Linked DNA regions of Homo sapiens: all the other regions are linked to region 3. Evidence: promoter capture Hi-C in human tissues and cell types (Jung and others, 2019). All regions are on one chromosome and are shown on one strand. The core of a region is centred on a gene start or on the middle of the fragment in contact, and the rest is flanking DNA. Distances in the headings are between cores, read along the strand shown. Region 1 has its middle 4.3 kb from the start of LINC01728. Region 2 overlaps LOC101927200 (a long non-coding RNA gene). Region 3 holds the start of L3MBTL1 (L3MBTL histone methyl-lysine binding protein 1).

Evidence for each region. The method cuts DNA at HindIII sites, captures the fragments that hold promoters and counts their contacts. A contact is called where the count stands out against the background at its distance.
Region 1: a contact is called between a fragment that was not itself captured here and the fragment with the promoter of L3MBTL1 in region 3, in 2 of the 25 tissues and cell types used here (spleen and thymus).
Region 2: a fragment that was not itself captured here is called in contact with the fragment with the promoter of L3MBTL1 in region 3 in 1 of the 25 tissues and cell types used here (neural progenitor cells).

What each region holds. Positions count from the first base shown.
Region 1 is chr20:43,889,098-43,891,797 of GRCh38, forward strand. No RefSeq gene overlaps it. Among named protein-coding and RNA genes, the nearest start is that of LINC01728, 4.3 kb to the right of the region's middle. The HindIII fragment of the contact is 4,952 bases long and covers 1-2,700 here.
Region 2 is chr20:43,770,737-43,773,436 of GRCh38, forward strand. All of the region lies in intron 1 of LOC101927200 (a long non-coding RNA gene), which reads left to right. Among named protein-coding and RNA genes, the nearest start is that of GTSF1L, 45 kb to the left of the region's middle. The HindIII fragment of the contact is 3,261 bases long and covers 1-2,700 here.
Region 3 is chr20:43,506,408-43,509,107 of GRCh38, forward strand. It overlaps L3MBTL1 (L3MBTL histone methyl-lysine binding protein 1), which reads left to right and starts at 1,290. Exons shown (of 22, transcript NM_001377303.1): 1 at 1,290-1,337. RefSeq lists a silencer at 1,171-1,500. The HindIII fragment of the contact is 9,495 bases long and covers 1-2,700 here.

The DNA.
Region 1 (2,700 bases), core at 147-2,646, 380 kb after region 3:
ACATGTGACAAAGAATATAGACTTTACAGAATAATTCCAAAGGACACTAAAAAAAATGGCAGCAGCAACAACAAATAATAATAACAAACTCTGGAGAGGGGGAGAATCTGATTTCCAGAGTTGCCATATTATATTATTTTAAAGGTCAACTTTTTTAACAAAAAATACAAGTTATGCAAAGAAATCAGAAAGGATGGCCCATAAACAGGAAAAAGGGGCAAAAACAAGAGAAACTACACTAAGGAACCCCAGATGTTGGATTTATTAGACAAAGGCTTTAAATTAGCTATTTAAAATATGCTTAAAGCATGAAGGAAATTATGTCTAAGGAACTAAAGAAAAGTTTAAAAATGTCTGATGAAATATAGAATATCGATAAAGAGATAGAAATTATTAAAACAAAAATTCTGGAGTTGAAAGTACAGTAGCTGAAATGAAACATTCACTTAGAGGAGCTCAACAGAACATTTTAACAGGCAGAAGAAAAAGAAGTCAGCAAACCTGATGATAGGTCAAATGATATTATCTGTCTGAGGAAGAGAAAGATAAAAAGAATGAAGAAAAATGAAGAGTCTCAAAGACCTATCAAGCATACTGAGATAGACCAAGAATACAAAAATATGCATAATGTGATTTCTAGAAGAGAAGATAGAGTGGCAGAAAGAATATTTGAGAAAAAAAAGGATGGCTAGGTTGGGTGTGGTGGCTCACGCCTGTAATCCCAGCACTTTGGGGAGGCCGAGGTGGGTGGATCATGAGTTCAGGAGATTGAGACCATCCTGGCTAACATGGTCAAATCCCGTCTCTACTAAAAATACAAAACAAAACAAAACAAAACAATTAGCCAGGCATGGTGGCGGGCGCCTGTAGTCCCAGCTACTTGGGAGGCTGAGGCAGGAGAATGGTGTGAACCTGGGAGGCGGAGCTTGCAGTGAGCCTAGATTGCACCACTGCACTCCAGCCTGCCTGGGTGACAGAGTGAGACTCCGTCTCAAAAGAAAAAAAAAAAAAGGGATGGCTAAAACTTCCCAAATTTGATGAGAAACATTAATCTACACATTCGAGAATCTCAACAAACTCCAGCTAGGATAAACTAAGAAAGATCCTTACCTAGACACATCATAATTTAACTGTTAAGAGGCAAAGACAAAGAGAATATCTTCAGAGTATCAAGAGAGAAGTGACTCACCATGTATAAGAGAGCCTTAATAAGATTGTCAGCTCACTTTTAATCAGAAACCATAGATGTCAGAAGACAGTGGGTTGGTATAGTCAGAGCCCTGAAAGACAAAAAACTGTCAACCAAGAATTCTATATCCAAAGAAAACTATCTTTTAAAAATGAAGGAGACATTAAGACATTCCCAGAAAGACAGAAATGGAGGCAGTTTGTCAGGTATTTCAGCCTGAAGCTTTTCTACAAGTAATACTAACGAAATGTTCAGTCCTTCAGGCTGAAATGATAGGACAATAGGAAGTAACTCAAATCGACATAAAGAAATAAAGGTAACTACATAGGTAAATACAAAGGCCAAAATACATACAAAAGGAAAAATAAATTTATTTTTTTCTTTGTAACCCTTTTTTTCTCTTATTTGTTTTAAAGGATAGCGATATGAAGCAAAAATTATGAATCTATGTTGATGGTCATACAGTGTGTAAAGATGTAATCTGTATGACAAAAATAGTACAAAAGTTGGAGAGGGAATGAAGTTATATTGGAGAATGGTTTATGTATACAATTGAAATGAAGGTAATAACTAGGTTGTTATAAATTAAGATGCTAATTATAATCTCCAGGGCAACCACTAAGAAAATAACTAAAATATATATAGTGAAAGAAATGACAAAGGAATACTAGAAAATATCTAGTACAAAAGAAGGTAATAATGGAGGACTAGAAGAAACAAAAAAAAGAAACATATAAAAACAAACATCAGAATGGCAGACATAAAGCCTACCTTATCAGCAATTATATGAAATTACTCTACATAATCAAAATATAAAACTTTTATGTTTTGTTGGACACCACTGAGAAAGTGCAAGACTACTCAGAATGAGAGAAAAGTTCAAATTATATATCTGATAAGGGACTTATATCTAGAATATATAAAGAACTCCTACAGTTCAACAATAACTAAACAAATAACCCAATTTAAACATTGTGCAAAGGATCTGAATATACATATCTCCAAAGAAGATGTACAAAGACAATAAGCACATAAAAAGATGCCAAACATCATTAGCCAGCAGGGAGAGAAATGCAAATTAAACCAACAATGGGCCGGGTGAGGTGGCTCATGCCTGTAATCCCAGCACTTTGGGAGGCTGAGGTGGGCAGATCATTAGGTCTGAAGATCGAGACCATCCTGGCTAACATGGTGAAACCCTGTCTGTACTAAAAATACAAAAAATTAGCCGGGCATGGTGGCGGGTGCTTGTAGTCCCAGCTACTTGGGAGGCTGAGGCAGGAGAATGGTGTGAACCCTGGAGGCGGAGCTTGCAGTGAGCCGAGATCGCGCCACTGCACTCCAGCCTGGGCAACAGAGCGAGACTCTATCTCAAAAAAAAAAAAAAAAAAGCCAACAATGAATACATTTTTTGTTTGTGTTCTTTTTAAGAGATGTGGTCTCACTATGGTGCCCAGACTGGAGTGCAGTAGCTACTCACAGGCACATTCATGGCATACTGTAGCCTCAAA
Region 2 (2,700 bases), core at 87-2,586, 260 kb after region 3:
CATGGAAATTGGAGAACACTACAAATAAAGGCTTTTTTTGGGATTATTTGTTTGCTATTTTGAAAACTATTTTTCAGCCTACTGTTTCATCCATCCATCCCTGTATCATGCATCCCTTTCTCTGGATGTCCAGACATCCAACCACCAAACCATCATCCGTTGAACCATTCATTCATCTGACATGTATTAAGCACTTCTTGTGAGCCAGGCCCTATACAAGCTCCACTGGGAGGGCAGAATTGGCCGGAGCCTGCTCCCTGCCCTTGAGGAATTGACACTTTAGTGGAACAGACACCTTACACACTCAAGGACTGTCCTGGACATCATCTCATTTGATGGTCATGGTCGGTATTGTTATCTCAGTGTAACAATTGAGGAGATTAAGGCTCAGAGAGGTGAAATGAATGGCCTGAGGTCACACAGCTGGCTGTCCATTCATTTGTTTACTCGTATGACAAGGTTTACAGAGGTGCTTAAATCCAGCCAGATGCCAAGGTGAAAACTGATTTTCAAACCTGTCCTTCAGAAATAAACCTTCTTAAAAAAATAAAAAGAAAGAAAATAAAAGAATAGGGAAAGTTATTTTTCCATCTTGCTTAGATGGGGACAGTTTTGAATTTATTTTTTTCAGATTGAACAATCGTTCCTCAAATGGATAGTGATAGGTGATCTAAAAAATAATCTTTAAAAACGTCGCCGAGTTGGGCATTTCCTCTGGGTGACATAACTCAGTGTGACAGAATGCATTTAAATTCACAGAAAAGAAATGGCAAGGAGTGCAATGTGGAAGGTGTTTGTGTGGCTGCCAGCTCCTTAACCCTCTCCTTTCACCATTCTTCCCCCTTTCCTCCACTGCCCCTGGGCCTGTGGGCACATTCGCTTCCCTCACTGCCTCCAGCCATATGTCTACACATACACATACGCATACGCATACACACACGCATACACATACACATACGCATACACATATGCATACACATAGCAGGGATCAAAAGCACTTCTGAAGATCCTGGGTCCCAGAATGTGGGCAGCTGATAGGCTGGGGGAAGAGGGTGTGGGTTTCCTAATGGGCCAAAGAAAGAGGTGCCAGGAATGCGTGGAAGATGATGTCTCTCTTTTCTCCAGATTCCTGTCTGTTCCCATTGTATTTCCATTCCTGCACATGGCCACCATGGTAACAAGGGAAGGGCTTTGCTTTGGGAAGGCCAGGGCCAGGCCAGGTGAGGCTCACGGACAAAGCATCTGCTGGTAACTTAGATTCAGCGTGCGAGGAAACCATGCTACAATTCCTCCCTGGCTTGGTGGGTGGCCTCCCTGTAAGAGACAGAACCCCAGGGCCATGCTAGGGTTGCAGCTGAGAGTGTGGATGGCAGCATGGTGCTCAAGGTGCTAGAGTTTCTTCTTTGTGATATTTTAGTTGTACTTCCCAAGGTATGTTCCATTATTTGCACACTGGTTTCTAGTTTCTGGCATTCTGCATCTGCCATTATGGCTGGGAAGAAAGAAGAGAGTAGAGAACTCCTTAGGGAGGAGAAAGAGGATCTGATGGAGAGGATGTCTTAAGTCAGCTTTCCTAGATGGAGATTCTTGCAGAATTTTTGCAGAGAGTAAATTATTGCAGATGGGGAGTGAAGGGAGCTGGACATGGTAGGGGAAGGACCTGAAGCTGGAGATCAGCTTTAACCTGATCCACAGGAAGCTCTGGAGTGTGAATTGTACCACAGATTGGCCCCTACTTGAGGCCAGGGGACTGGCATTTGTACTTCCACGTCAGTCACTAGCTACTGGTTGCCACTGGTGGGGATGGGAGTGAGAAGAGAGTAGCTTCCAAGAGGGGGCAGATCTGCCAAAGTCAAGTCTCTGGGAAAGGGAACAGGGTGAGCCTTCAGGACTCACAAGACCCAGGGGCTGGGGTACTAGTCTGATAAAAGGGGTGTTATGGTTTGAATGTGCCCCCTAAATTTCATGTTGCGGAAACCAAATTCCCAAATCCATATGTTGATTGGAGGTGGGGCCTTTGAGAGATAATTAAGATGAGATAAGGTCATCAGGCTGGGGCACCCATAATGGAACTGGTGGCTTTACGGGAAGAGGAAACCTGAGCTGGCACACTCCCTGGCTCTCATCATGTGATGCTTTCACCACATTATGACACAGCAAGAAGGGCCCCACCAGATGCAGCCCCTCAGCCTTGGATTTCCCAGCCTTCAGAACTGTAAGAAATACATGTTTTTTCTTAATAAATTACCCAGTCCCAGATATTAAGTTATAGCAACAGAAAGTGGAACAAGACAGGGTGTATGGGTTGGGAAGCAACAGCTACTACAAGGAGAACCTCAATAAGACAGGATAAAGGGAGAGGAGGGACTGTTTCCTTCCCTGCCCTGGGGGACTGTGGGAGGAATTCAGCAGCAAGGAGGAGGCACTCTTCACTCACTGCAAAAGTTCACAGAAAGCCCTCTTTTAATAACTGGGTGCCATCAGCAGGTAGGGGAAGAAACTTGAAAGACACATTCATGAAAGAGAGACCGAGGTGAGAGATGGTTTAAATACTTGCTGCTTTGAGTAAGGCTCCAGGACCAGCATCACCATCATCACCTGGAGCTTGTCCAAAATGCAGGCTCTCAGGTCCCACCTGAGGCTACTGAATCCAATCCGAAATTTTAACAAGATTCCCAAGTGATTTGTGTATACACTTAA
Region 3 (2,700 bases), core at 40-2,539:
CTGTTCCCAATAATATGAGATGTGATTAAAAATTGACATTGCAGCAAGGAAGAACACATGCAATGCGTTGGCGTGGCAACCGGAATAGTTAAATTCTGCATAAATTTAAACCTGTCGATCACAGCAATTTGGAGAATTTGCCTACATTTCATTAGGAACCCTTTTCTCATCTGGCCTGGGAGGGAATCAGGAGCCTGGTGGTCTGACATGTGGCCATGACTTAAGGCCAAGTAAAATCAAGGGATTAAATTAAATCATTGGTGTGGGAGAGGGGCTGGATGGTGGACTGTACCAAAAGTTACCCTGTTTTCATCTGCATACCCTACATCATTTAGTCACTCAACAGATATTTATTAAGCACCCACTCTGTGCCCCGCTCTGGGCTAGGTACTAGGAATACAAAAACTAATATTTCCTACCCTCTTGGAGCTTGAAACCTCTTAGCCTCTGGAATTACTCAAATCTATGTGAAGTGCCAGCTGTGGTATGTGTAAGCGAGACAGGTATCTTGTGTTACCAGAACCAATAACAAGGAGATTTGATTAATTAGAGAGATCAGGTGGAGGCGAAGAGATCAGTCAAAGTGAAGCAGAGAGGGGCAGTGATTGCTACACCACCACAGGAACCCAAACTGAAAACGACCATACGCCATGAAGTGGGTGATAGTCTTTACCAATGTCGAAATGGAGGACCTGGGGGATACTGATGTTACCCAGCCCTTCGCAGTGGGGTCACCCAAAAGTAGACGCGGCTAATGCCGCTCTTTATGCCCGGCAGGGCCAGGACCAGAGTCCCCGCACGAGGGTTCCTCTCTCCGGTCGCACGTGCCCTTCACCCTTCCTGAGGCCGTTTTCTGACGCTCCTGAGCTCCCCTCCAGGGTGAGGGCAGGCGCGGTGGGAAGGCGTTGGACAGAGCAGACACTCGGCTGGGGTGCATGCCTGGGTGCAGCCTCGTCTTTTGTCACTAACCACTCAGCTCGGTAGCCCTCCAGGCTCTCTCTTCGAGCTCCGCGGTCCCTGCGCCCCCGCTGCGCTCTGCTAGCTGTGATGCAGGGGTTCGGGGGCAGGAAAAATCTCGACCCGCCACGCCCGTGCGGCAAACCTGTCCTAGGTTGAGGGGGCATGAGGCGCGCACAACCAGGGCCTCGAAGGCAGGCAAGAGGGCGCGGGCGCCACAGAAGCCTGGGCCTGCGCCTGGGCCGGGCAGATGTGCCCGGCGCTCGGGCCCCGCGCTCTGCGTCCTGCAGGGAGGCGGACCCGCCCCCCGAACGCGCAGGCGCGCGGCGCCCGGCTCGGACCGTAGCTAGGCGCTGGGCGGCCACCGGCTGGCCAGGCAGGTAAGCAACCAGCGGTGCGTGGGCTCAGACCTTGCGTCCCCTGGGCGCCGCGCCACCCCGCTCCGTCCAGGGCGGCGAGGGCTCAGGTCTGCGGCCCCGGCGTCTCGCTCCTTCCGAGCGCCTCCGGCGGGGGGCGCGGGCTGGGGAGGAGGTTCGGGAAAACGCCGGGGAAAGCGGTCTGGGCGGAGCGCGCAGGGGGCCAGGCGGGTGCGGGACTCCAGGCCCAGCCGACCCTGCGGCGTGGCTTCGGGCTGCGATCAGGAGGGGCGAGGAGGGTGGAGGCTGCGTGTTTGGAGATACGCAATCAATTAAGAGTTTTTTTATTAATGGAAAGGTGTGGAGGGCGGGGTTTTGGTTTTCTTGGGAAATGAATGAGTCATTTGGCAAACTTTCCTACCATTAATTTTGGATTTTTATAATGGAATATGGAATTTTTTTTGTTTCTCTCTCTTTTTTTTTTTTTGGCCATAAAGAGAAAGAATAAAAAGAATTCCGCCATTTTAGCGTTTTAAAAAGTAACCGTTCTGCGGAACTGTCGGATCAGTGACCGCCCCGCCCGCCTTTGCCTATACCAGTCCCGGGAGGCTGGTGGCGGGTCCCGATCCTGGAACCCTGCGCTCAGGGCCGCTTCCGTCCCCTCCCGAGTCCGGGAAGCAGCTGCGGCGAGGGGCGGGGCCGAGGCCCCAAGTTTGTAGCGCTCAGCCTTGCTGTGTGTTGTTTTCTGGGTAGCTGTCGAGGGCTCTACTCCCCACCCAACACCTATAGTAAGGACATTTATTGGTCGTTTTTGTATACAAGGCCTTGGAAGGCAAGGGATTGAGAAAACCTTGTCAGACATCAAGAGAAAATACCCATGGACACATTCAGCCAACAGATATTTATTGAGCATCTGCTATGTGCACGGCTCTGGGCTGGGGCTACAATGGTTGTTTTAGGTCGGGTCCCCCGAAACAGACTCCGATAGCAAGATTTGAGTGTAGGTTTATCGGAGTGCTCTTGCGAATATCACCAGTAGGGGAATGACGGGTTGGGCGGAAGAAGAAGCTGAACTGCTGATGTAGTCTCAACAGAGGCCTCAGCCTGACCTAATGGAAGCTCTGGAACTGAGATGGCCCTGCAGAGGTGTTCCAAAGTAAGGCAAGGGGGTGGGGTCTTTACACCTCATAGCAACTCGTCATTGGCTGGCGGCTTCTAGGAGAGCCTTCAAGTGAGGTAGCTCCCTAGGCTCAGAGCAGTTCCAAGAGAGGCTGACGGCAGAAGGCTGAAAACTTTCTTCAGTGTCCACCAGAAACCCAGACTCTTCTGAGTCCCCCCTCACTTCATGGCAGACTCCTTCTCAGTCCCTTTTGCTAGACCCTTTTCC